Linked DNA regions of Homo sapiens: all the other regions are linked to region 2. The links are contacts of gene promoters, found by promoter capture Hi-C in human tissues and cell types (Jung and others, 2019). All regions are on one chromosome and are shown on one strand. Each heading gives the region's core, a stretch centred on a gene start or on the middle of the fragment in contact. The rest is flanking DNA. Distances are from core to core; before and after follow the strand shown. Region 1 has its middle 17 kb from the start of PIPOX. Region 2 holds the start of MYO18A (myosin XVIIIA). Region 3 overlaps PHF12 (PHD finger protein 12). Region 4 overlaps SEZ6 (seizure related 6 homolog).

Evidence for each region. The method cuts DNA at HindIII sites, captures the fragments that hold promoters and counts their contacts. A contact is called where the count stands out against the background at its distance.
Region 1: a contact is called between a fragment that was not itself captured here and the fragment with the promoter of MYO18A in region 2, in 2 of the 25 tissues and cell types used here (IMR-90 fibroblasts and lymphoblastoid cells).
Region 3: a fragment that was not itself captured here is called in contact with the fragment with the promoter of MYO18A in region 2 in 2 of the 25 tissues and cell types used here (H1 embryonic stem cells and dorsolateral prefrontal cortex).
Region 4: a contact is called between a fragment that was not itself captured here and the fragment with the promoter of MYO18A in region 2, in 1 of the 25 tissues and cell types used here (adrenal gland).

The regions. Positions count from the first base shown.
Region 1 is chr17:29,025,228-29,027,986 of GRCh38, forward strand. No RefSeq gene overlaps it. Among named protein-coding and RNA genes, the nearest start is that of PIPOX, 17 kb to the right of the region's middle. The HindIII fragment of the contact is 5,150 bases long and covers 1-2,759 here.
Region 2 is chr17:29,179,131-29,182,019 of GRCh38, forward strand. It overlaps MYO18A (myosin XVIIIA), which reads right to left and starts at 1,268. Exons shown (of 42, transcript NM_078471.4): 1 at 1,183-1,268. RefSeq lists silencers at 942-991, 1,112-1,161, 1,127-1,347. The HindIII fragment of the contact is 14,487 bases long and covers 1-2,889 here.
Region 3 is chr17:28,931,053-28,933,883 of GRCh38, forward strand. The region is part of intron 2 of PHF12 (PHD finger protein 12); the gene reads right to left. All of the region lies in intron 1 of LOC101927018 (a long non-coding RNA gene), which reads left to right. Among named protein-coding and RNA genes, the nearest start is that of PHF12, 19 kb to the right of the region's middle. The HindIII fragment of the contact is 7,253 bases long and covers 1-2,831 here.
Region 4 is chr17:28,964,361-28,967,246 of GRCh38, forward strand. All of the region lies in intron 4 of SEZ6 (seizure related 6 homolog), which reads right to left. The region is part of intron 1 of LOC105371716 (a long non-coding RNA gene); the gene reads left to right. Among named protein-coding and RNA genes, the nearest start is that of PHF12, 14 kb to the left of the region's middle. The HindIII fragment of the contact is 3,586 bases long and covers 1-2,886 here.

The sequences.
Region 1 (2,759 bases), core at 193-2,692, 150 kb before region 2:
AGAAGTGGAGCTTGCAGTGAGCCGAGATCATGCCACTGCACTCTAGCCTGGGCAACAGAGGGAGACTCCATCTCAAAAAAAACAAAAAAAAAACTTCCCCTGACTGAGCTCAGGGACAGCACTGTGCCTGTGTTTTTACCAACATGCTTCCAGTCACTCTTCGTGTCTCTCTGCAGGCCGACCTTAGTGCTAAGGATCCTATCCAAGGTCAGACCGAGGGTAAGAGTCAGGCTACCGGGTCCAGAAGTTCACGTTCTTAAGTGCAGTGCCATTCTCCCCCTCCCTGAGTCTTCATGACTTTGCCTACCTAGGCTCCTATTCTGGAGGAGGGTGGTTACGAGCACAGACTCTGGAGGAAGGCGGCTGTGTTCTGAATCCTCTCACCAAGCCTCACTTTCCTCGTGTGTAAAATGGAGGTGTTAACAATAGTACCGACTCCATAGGATTGTGGTGAGATTAAATAAGTAAATATACTCCGGTTCTCAGAGCAATTCCTGGAGCATAGGATGCACTGTGTGTATTAGCTCATTTGTATTTTTCCCACTTCAATGAGCTGGTCTACGTGTGTATGAGCTCTTATTCCCAGCCTATTTCTATTCCACAGTCTGGTAGCAGCCACCCCTCCCAGCTGGCCTTGAACCTATTTCATCTCCCCTCTTGGGACGACCATCTCTGTTCCAGTCCACCTTATTTCCTAGCCCTCTTCCTCCCCTGCCCAGCCTGGCTTGGGGCGCCACCATCAGACCCCGCCACATAACCCTCATTCGTGGAAGCTTCCCTGAGACCCCCCAGAGTACCGTTGATGCATATCAGATTCCACCAGGTCTTTTGCCTGAGTTCTTCTTTTTTCTAAATTAAAAAAAAAAAGTATTGGTTGGTTTGTTTGCTTTTTAAGAGATGGGGTCTTGCTGCATTGCTTAGGCTAGATTTGAACTCCTGGGATCAAGTGATCTTCCCACCTCAGCCCCTGAGAAGTTGGGACTATATGCATGTGCCACTGTGCCCAGATTAAAATTTTATTTTTAATTGACAAATAATAATTGTATATATATTTATGGGGTACATTGTGATACTTTTATTTTATTTTTATTTTAGAGACAGGGTCCCACTGTCACCCAGGCTGGAGTGCAGTGGTGCGATTATAGTTCCCAGCAGTCTCGAACTCCTAGCAGTCCTCCCGCCTTAGCCTCCTGAGTAGCTGGGACCACAGGCATGCCGCACCGTGCCTGGCTAATTTTATTTTGTTTTATTTTTTGTAGAGATGGGGGTCTTGCTTTGTTGCTCAGACTGGTCTCAAACTCCTGGCCTCAAGCGGTCCTCTCTTCTCAGCCTCCCAAAGTTTTGGGGTTACAGACATGAGCCACTGTGCCCGGCCTGATGTTTCAATATATGTTTACAATGTGGAATGATTAAGTCAGGCTAATTAACAAATCCATCACATGATCTCACTTATATGTGAAATCCAAAAAAGTTAAAGTCATGGAAGTAGAGAGTGGAATAATGGTGGCTGGGCGCGGTGGCTCATGCCTGTAATCCCAGCACTCTGGGAGGCTGAGGCGGGCGGATCACCTGAGGTCAGGAGTTTGAGACCAGCCTGACCAACATGGAGAAGCCCCATCTCTACTAAAAAATACAAAAAATTAGCCGGGCATGGTGGTAGGCACCTGTAATCCCAGCTACTTGGGAGGCGGAGACAGGAGAATCACTTGAACCCAAGAGGCTGACGTTGCAGTGAGCCAAGATTGCACCGCTGTACTCCAGCCTGGGTGACAAGAGCGAAACTCAAAAAAAAAAAATGATGGTCACCACAGGCTCAGGGAGGGGGTTGGAGAGAGAGGAACTGTTGATCAAAGGGTACAGAGTGTGTGGTTTCTAGTAGGTCCTCTCATTCCCATGGACTTCACTGATTTGGGTGGCTCTTTTATCTCCTGTAATGGCCAGTACAGGAAACGCCCATTCCCTCAGTAACCAGCAGCACACTTTCGCATGTGGGAGAGCACCAAGAGAGATGACATCTCTGGGAGGGAAACAGAGTGGATAGTCCCCACTGGGGAAGGAACAAGGGACCGAGGAGTGAGAGGGATGTTCCTAATAACTAGCAGTGCGTCTCCATCCTAAGTCACTCATTCCTATACTTCAGTTTCCCAGCCTCCTTCCTCTGCTGACTCCCTGTGGGGAAGCTGCTCATTGTGTCCACCCTCAGTCCCCCAAGTTGCAGCTGTGAACTGGGACTTATGCGCAGCAGCCAAGAGACACCTCAGAATTCCCAAGTTTGGAACAGGAGGAAGGAGTCTGCCAAAGCAAGCGGTGAAACTAGATTTTGGAGAGGACTTCAAGTGTGGATGGTGAGAGGGTGGTCCTGGGGAAGGGAGACCTCTCTCTTCAGGGCAAGGCAGGCCTGGGGTCCCTGCAGCCTGGCCTGCATGCCTGCCCAGTGCCCCAGAGCCCTTCTGTTCAGGCCTGGCATCCCACAGAGGTGGCATTCTGCTCAGGAGCTTAGAGCACAGACGAAGAGGCAGGCATTGCCAGGAATTGATTTGCGGAAGCAGCGGGGGCTTTCTCTTCCTCCTTACTTCCTTGGTCTTTGATCTCCTGTCCTCCCTCCATAGTCCATTTTCCCCCTCCTTCCCTTGATTTATTCCTCTTTTTCTTTCTTTAGCTGAATCATAGCCACTCCCTAGAAGGCAAAGGCTGGGAGAGGCAGTTCTTTGTCCTCTTTTTCCCTTAACTAGGTGGGTCCTCGCTGTCCAGATCTCAGC
Region 2 (2,889 bases), core at 18-2,517:
GAAGCATTCCCCCAGCCCTCCCCACACAAATACAAACTATGAGGCCAGCGCCAAACACATGCCCCATTGGCAAAGTGGTCAGGCAAAATGAATACCCGCTCAAAAACAAACTGGCTGTCTTCCTCCCCATCTCCCCCACCCCCCACCTCTAGCTCATTCTGGCCGCAACCTTTCCAACTAATCAGCAAGACACATGTGCCTTGCAGTAGGGCAACTCCCCCATCTCCACCCCCAAAACAAAGCCCCAATGCCTGGCCTGTCCCTGCGGGCCTTATCGCACCCAGGAACATGACCCACACTCCTGGCCGGGTTTGGGACCAAGGAGCGCACCCCCACTAACAAGGGGCAGGGTGAGGGGGCAGCCACCCCTACCACCTCCCCTTCCCATTGGCGAAACAACTGGCATGACAGGTTAGCAGGGCGGGGCGTCGGGGCGGTCTCTCCAGAGGCCTGGGGCAGCTTGTCCGACCTTCCCACACGCACCCCACCCCTCTGCAGGGAAAGGTGAGGTGAGCATTCAGTCTCAGGGCACAGCCTGCACTCCCTAATCCCCAAAGCCTGCCACCATTCACCCTCTCATCTTCTGTCCCAAGAGGAGGGGGCCCAGGGAAGCGGGGTCTCCATTGTTTTGCCAGCTGTCTAGCAGCTGCTCCTTTGAGAGGAGCCCGCAGTCTGCCCGGCAGTGAAAGAGTGAAGGCCGCTGGGAGGGATAAAAGGGTCGGTAGAGGTGCTCCCCTTCCCCGCTGCCTTCCTCAGCGCCCCGCTCTCTCGCTCGCTCCATCGTGGGGCCTGGACGGGGGCAGGAGAAGTCCCCCCACCCTCGAGGCTGCAGCCCCCACCCCGCAGCTCCGGGCCACCTGGGCGCCTCCAAGCCCCAAATCCCCCCACACTGAAGGCCACCCTGTCCTGCCTCCCTGCGCCCCCCAGGTTGGCTGGAAGGGCCGGTGGTTCCCCCTTCCCCGCCGCTCCCGATCGGCCCCCACCCCCGGGCGTCGAGCTCCACGGCGCCGCCAGGGACGGGAGCCGGGAGTCCGGGCCGCTGCTTCCAGGGGACGGGGGAGGAGGAGGAGGAGCCGGCGGGCCCCGCCGCCCGCCCGCCCTCCCTCCCGGCCGGAGCCCGCCCCGCCGCCCCACCAAGCCGGGCCCGCCACCGAGCGGCCGCCGCCGCCGACCGGCACTCACCGGCCACCGGAGCCCGCCCGGCAGGCAGCAGAAGCGGAGACGCGGCATCCAGCAGCCTCGGCCCGGTCAGGGATGGAGCAGAGCGCAGCGCGGCGCAGCTCAGCGCCGCCCCCAGCGACCGCGCAGGCCGAGCCGAAAGGGAGCTCCCTGCTGGCGGCTGTGGGGATAAACGCCCGGCCTGCCTGGCAGCGCCAGTGCGCGCCGCCAGACGTGGGCCAGGCGGGCCGGGCGCTGCCCTGGCAGCCTCCGTCCGCTGTGGACTCCGAAGCCCCTCTCGCTGTGTCTGAGAGAGGCCCTGCCTGGAGTTTCTGTCTGCACTGGGCACTGGAGGCTGTCCGAAAAGGGTCCGAAAGGGGCTGAGTGGCACTGCCTAGGACAGGCACCAGGGTCATGATGAACGTATAGAAGAGGGGCTGTCCAAGGCAGGCACCGAACTCTGCAGGCTGTGTTCAAGGTAGTGCTGTCTAAAGGAAGCAATTAAGTCTTACTGGCCGCCTCCTCCCAAGGTGGCTCTGCAGAGGCACACACAGGGCCCTGCTGGATGGTGCCCCAGGCTCAGTCCAGACCAGGTACTGCCTGCCATGTCCGAGATGGCACTGCCAGAATGCACTCCCCAAGGTAAAAACAGACTCCCAATAGCTTGGTCTGATACAGCCCTGCCTCAAAATGGAGTGGATCAAGAGGCGTACCAGGGCCCGGGAGCCATGGCTGTAAGTGCCACTCACTCCCTAAAGGAGTTCACCAATGCCAAGATTAACACTTTCAGAAGCTCTTTGGAATGCAGTCTGTCCCTGGGTCCACTGTGTGCTGTAAATATCAAGTGAGCTGCTGTACCCACCAAGAAGACAGTTTATACTTCCTGGGAGAGGCCAAGGGACATCCAGATACCAGGCCTCCAAGATAGGTGCTATGTCTAGAGTTTGGAGAAAGAAAGAAATGGGGACACTTCCCTGGGCAGTGTCCATGCTGGAGTGGGGTGTGCCAGAATGTGGAAGAAACTGAGTGGGGTGGTGCAGGAAGAAGGGTGTAGCAGACAAATGCTGCTACCTCCCTAGACAGCCCAAACAGGAACTTCTCCAGGCAAGGGCAGCCCAACCTGACAGACCAGGGAAGGCTGGAGCAAGGAGGCTCAGAAAGCAGAGAGTTGAGTAAGAGTTAGGGAGTTCCTGAGGAATAGACCCAGGCGGGATACACATTTTGGAATAACATGCAACTCAAATTCAATTTAACAAACTGCCTGCTAAGTGCCAAGTGCAGCCCCAGGCACTTGGGGTGACACAGAAGGAGATCAGACATGGCATATCTCCAGGGAAATCACATGGGGAACAGGTAGACCTGAGCTGTGACAGTAGTAGGGTTCACCATGCTGGCATTACTTGGATGATGAGATAGGTGCTATGATGGGAGGCTTATTTGGCTTGAGGAGTGAGAAGAGCAGCTTCAAAAACATGACATTTGAGGCCAGGCATGGTGGCTTATGCCTGTAATCCCAGCACTTTGGGAGGCTGAGGTGGGCAGATCACTTGAGGCCAGCGTTCAAGACCAGCCTGGCCAACATGGCGAAACCCCATCACTACTACAAATACAAAAAATTAACCAGGCGTGGTAGTGCATGTCTATAATCCCAGCTACTTGGGAGGCTGAGGCAGGAGAATCTCTTGAACCTGGGGAGCAGAGGTTGCAGTGAGCGGAGATTACACCACTGTA
Region 3 (2,831 bases), core at 1-2,500, 250 kb before region 2:
CCTGTCTCAAAAATAACAACAACAAAAAACAAACAAACAAAACCACACATTCCTCAGAACTCTAGATAATGACCACAGGCTCCCTTTGTTAAGCCTGCCCTAAAGTATGGATAGGGGCTATGAATTTAGGGAGTAGTCCAGGGAAACCCAAGCATTGTCTCCCAGATGAAGACAAAACATTTAAAAGACTGAGGCCATCATTCCTTTTTTTTTTTTTTTTTGAGACGGAGTCTTGCTCAGTTGCCCAGGCTGGAGTGCAGTGGCGCGATCTTGGCTCACTGCAACCTCTGCCTCCAGGGTTCAAGCGATTCCCTTGCCTCAGCCTCCCGAGTAGCTGGGATTACAGGTTGCCCGCCATCACACCCGGCTAATTTTTATATTTTTAGTAGAGATGGGGTTTCACCATGTTGGCCAGGCTGGTCTTGACCTCCTAACCTCAAGTGATCCACCCACCTCAGCCTCCCAAAGTACTGGGATTACAGGCGTGAGCCACTGCACCTGGCTGAGGCCATCACTTCTTAAGATCTGCTTTTTTTTTGTTTGTTTTGAGATGTAGTCTCACCGTATCACCCAAGCTGGAGTTCAGTGGCGTGATCTCGGCTCACTGCAACCTCTGCCTCCTGGGTTCAAGTGATTCTCCTGCCTCAGCCTCCCGAGTAGCTGGGATTACAGGTGCCTGCCCCCATGTCCAGCTAATTTTTGTTTTTTTTTTAGAGATGGGGTTTCACCATGTTGGCCAGGCTGGTCTCGAACTCCTGACCTCAAGTAATCTGCCTACCTCGGCCTCCCAAAGTACTGGGATTACAGGTGTGAGCCACTGTGCCTGGCCAAGATTTGCTGCTTTCTTAGGGACAGAACATGCATCTTGAAATAACAAATTTGAAATGATGGTATCTTGGGAGAAGGCAGTAATATCTAAGATTAGATGGATAGGAAAGAAAGGTCTTAGAAAATGATCATCATAGGCATAGCTGGAACACAAGAATCACCCATCATAAAGCTTTCTCATGACCATGTTTCCTCTCTGCTTCAAGCAATTAATTCCTTTCAAGCTATTTAGAAGGCAGCTTTTCAATTCAAACTTCTATCTTTTTTTTGAGGCAGGGTCTCACTCTGTCACCCAGGCTGGAGTGCAGTGGGGCAATCTTGGCTCACTGAAGCCTTGACCCCCTAGGCTCAAGCAGTCCTCCCACCTCAGCCTCCCGAGTAGCTGGGACCACAGGCGCATACCACTACGCTGGGCTAAATTTTATATTTTTTGTAGAAATAGGGTTTCACTATGTTGCCGAAGGCTGGGTCTTGAACTCCTGGGCTCAAATGGTCCGCTTGCCTCTGCCTTCCAAAGTGCTGGGATTACACGTGTGAGCCAACACGCCTGGCTCAATGCAAATTTTTTAGAGGAAAGGGATTCATGAAATGGTTCCAGGAAAGACACTGTCATTGGGGTAAGCTCAGGAACCAATTCTGAAAGAGGCTGTTTTGCTCCATATCAGAAATACTGCTGACAGGGAAAGGATTCCAGGGAGAAAGGAGATTCTGCAGCCTCACGGTACTCATGTACTTATTCTGAGGACTCCCCACCTCAGCTGCCCATCTCAAAACTCCTTCCGCAGCTGGGTGTGGTGGCTCACGCCTGTAATCCCAGCACTTTGGGAGGCCAAGGTGGGTGGGTCACTTTAGGTCAGGAATTCGAGACCAGCCTGGCCAACATGGCAAAACCCTGTCTCTACTAAAAACACAAAAATTGGCTGGGTGTGGTGGTGTGCACTTGTAGTCCCAGCTACTGGGGAAGCTGAGGCAAGAGAATTGCTTGAACCCAGGAGGTGGAGGTTGCAGTGAGCCGAGACCGCATCACTGCACTCTAGCCTGGGTGACAGGAGATTCTTCCCAAAAACAAAAACAAAAACCCCTTCTTCCTTGGAAGAATGGTATTCCCATAAGCCTAGCGTGCAACTCTGAAAACAATTACATGCACACCAGAGTCTTTAAATCATGATATGCCTGTCAAGAAAAAAAGGCTCTGCCCTCGCTCCCTCTCATCCTCATGTATCAATGAAGACAGGGTCCTGGAGGCCGTCCTTTATAAGAAAAAATCATTAAAAGTTAAAAGTCACGTAACACTGAGATTACTCTACCAGAGTTTCAGCTGCTTAGCAGTGAAAACACTATAATGAGACAATGCTGCTTTTGTAAAGACATCAATGTGTTTCTTAAACTAAAGCCTAGAAATAGCATAGTGATAATTTCATTGACATCTAGGTATTACAGTTCACAAAGTATTTTAACAGATGTTCTTATTTGATCTTCACTACCATACTGTGAGATAATTCTTATTCCCATCATACAGGTGAGGAAACTGACTTATCTAAAGCCACTAAGTAGCAGAACTGGAACCCAAATCAAAGTTTCCTGGCTCTTTGAAATCTTGAGCCTAAGCTATTTTTGTTGTTGTTGTTTTGTTTTTGGTTCACTCTCAGGATATGCTTCAGAGCCCAAGTTGTTTTTTAAGAACCTTTAGTAGTCTTCTTATTTCTGGGGTACACAGTGAAATATCCATCAGGGTACCCTCCTTAACCTCAAGGCTGCGCATTTCCTTCTACATCAGTCAATATTTATTGAGTACCCATGACTTTCTCATCAATGTACTAGGTACCACACTGAAAAATGAACGCAAAGCAAACAAATTATCATCTACCCCATCAAAAAAGTAGTCTAGGCCAGGCTGTAGCTCATATCTGTAATCCCAGCACTTTGGGAGGCTAAGGTGGGAGGACTACTTGACCCCAGGAGTTAGAGGCCAGGCTGGGCAACATGGTGAGACCCCATTTCTA
Region 4 (2,886 bases), core at 80-2,579, 210 kb before region 2:
GGAAATTAGAAGGGTTAGGTTCTGGCTCAAGCTTTATGACACTTTAGGCAGGTTATTTAATCTTTGTGTGTGTGTTTCCTCATTTGTTAAATGAGGTTTAAAATCCTAGCCTACCTACAGGGTTACTGTGAGAAGAAATGATAGAGTATTTTATCTAGCTTGGTATCTCTGGTACCCAGCTGATATTATATCTTCAGGAAATGCTTATTGAATGACTCGTAGACATGAAAGCACTTGAAATAGTGAAAAACCTATACAGATGTAAAGTGTTGATACTGTTTTTCCTTTAGGGAATAAATATGAATTGCAGCAGCAAAGAGTGAAATCAGACAGTAAAGGCTTTCCCAGTATTCACTGAGAAATGCTAAAAAGCTTGATGCCAATGGCCATGGACTTCTTTTAAAACCAGAATGGTGGCCGGGCCGGTGTCTCATGCCTGTAATCCCAGCACTTTGGGAGGCCGAGGTGGGCGGATCACCTGAGGTCGGGAGTTCGAGACAAGCCTGACCAACATGGATAAACCCCGTCTCTACTAAAAATACAAAATTAGCCGGGCATGGTGGCGCATGCCTGTAATCCCAGCTACGGGGGAGGCTGAGGCAGGAGAATCGCTTGAACCCGGGAGGTGGAGGTTGTGGTGAGCTGAGATCACTCCATTGCATTCCTGCTTGGGCAACGAGAGCAAAACTCCATCTCAAAACAAACAAACAGCCGGGAGTGGTGGCTCATGCCTGTAATCCCAGCACTTTGGGAGGCCGAAGTGGGCGGATCACCTGAGGTCAGGAGGTCGAGACCAGCCTGGCCAACATGGAGAAACCCCATCTCTACTAAAAATACAAAAATCAGCCGGACGTGATGGCAGGCGCCTGTAATCCCAGCTACTCGGGAGGCTGAGGCAGGAGAATCGCTTGAACCCGGCAGGTGGAGGTTGCAGTGAGCCGAGATCGTGCCATTGCGCTCCAGCCTAGGGGACGAGAGCGAGACTTCATCTCAAAAAAACAAACTTACAAACAAACAAAATCCAGAATGGTGGTAGGCTGGGGCAAGGTGGGAGGATTGCTTGAGGCCAGGAGTTCAAGAGCAGCCTGGGCAACATAGTGAGGTCCCCATCTCTGTAAAAAATTTTTAAAAAATACCCAGGCATGGTGATGTGTACCTGTAGTCTTAGCTACTCAGGAGGCTGAAGTGGGATCGCTTGAGCCTAGGAGTTTAAGGCTGCAGTGAACTATGATTGCACCACTGCGCTCCAGCCTAGGTGACAGAGTGAGTCCCTGTTTCGAAAAACAACATCAAACAAACAAGAAAAAGATGGGGACGAGGGTAGGGAGGCAGTGCACTGCCTTCATGGAAGTTGGGGAAAGAACAAGTTGCCCTGGGAAAGCTGGTAGCTTTGGAATTGTCATACCAAATTTGACCAAATGGTGGCAGCAAATCCTACAAAACAATCTGGCATATCCCGATCCTGGGGTCAAGCTGGGGTGGTAGCTAAAAGGATCAACCCGGTGCAGTGGCTCACGCCTGTAATCCCAGCACTTTGGGAGGCTGAGGTGGACGGATGGCCTGAGGTCAAGAGTTCAAGACCAGCCTGGCCAACATGGCAAAACCCCATCTCTACTAATAAAATACAAAAATATTAGCTGGGCATGGTGGCAGGCGCCTGTTATCCCAGCTACTCGGGAGGCTGAGGCAGGAGAATCGCTTGGACCGGGGAGATGGAGGTTGCAGTGAGTCGATATCATGCCATTGCACTCCAGCCTGGGCGACAGAGTGAGACTCCATGTTCCAAAAAATAAAATAAATAAATAAAATAAAATAAAATAAAATAAAAGTGAAGATCCAGCTGGGCACGGTGGCTCACACCTGTAATCCCAGCACTTTGGGAGGCCGAGGCAGGTGGATAACAAAATCAGGAGTTCGAGACCAGCTAACATGGTAAAACCCCATCTCTACTAAAAATACAAAAAAAAAAAAAATGATCTGGGCATGGTGGCACGCGCCTGTAGTCCCAGTTACTTGGGAGGCTGAGGCAGGAGAATCGCTTGAACTCGGGAGGCAGAGGTTGCAGTGAGTGGAGATTGCGCTACTGCACTCCAGCCTGGGCGGCAGAGTGAGACTCTTTCTCAAAAAAAAGTGAAGATCCTGGCTTGCGTCTAAGAGGTGAGAGCAAAGGCCTGGAGGGGTCAAGGAGAGGCTGAGAGGCTTGTGCTACAGAGCCTGATAACCCTTGGGGTGGTAGGAAAAGTGAGGACTGTCTAGACTGAAGATCTTGGGTCTTGGGGTAGGGGGCAGCCCCACTGATGGTATCAGGTAAATGGGAGGAGAGGTCCATGCAAGGCCTCTGTTCCTGGGTGCCTTTGTGTGAATAGAAAAATGGGCCCTCTTTCTTCCCCCCCATTAAAAAGAAAAAGAAAAAGAAAAAGAGGCTGTCTCAGGGCAGACCAGGGTCCAGAAATTTGAGTTTTATGACTTTCACCTGTCCTGTTACTATGTCTGTGAAAGTGGGAGGAGAATTCCTCCTCTTCTGTCTCTCATGGGGCTCTGGAGAGAATGGTCGGTAAGTGGCTAGTTGTGCTTGGCAGGCAGTACAGGGCAGTGCTTAGCAGGTGGGCTGTGGGTCAGACTGCCTGGGTTTGAATGCAGGCTTCTTCCCTACGTGCTGTGCCACCGTGGGCAAGTTACCTAAATTCTCTGTGCCTCAGTTGCCTCATTTATCCACCCACTTTCAGTATTACATCCAAGGTTGTGGAGGTTAAGTGAGAAGACATATGTGCAGTTCCTGAACAAATGCCTAAGACATCAGCCTGCTGTTATTGTTTGTAATCTTGATTAATAATAGCACCTCACATCTACATGTACTTTCCAGATTCTAAAATGCCTTCACACTCT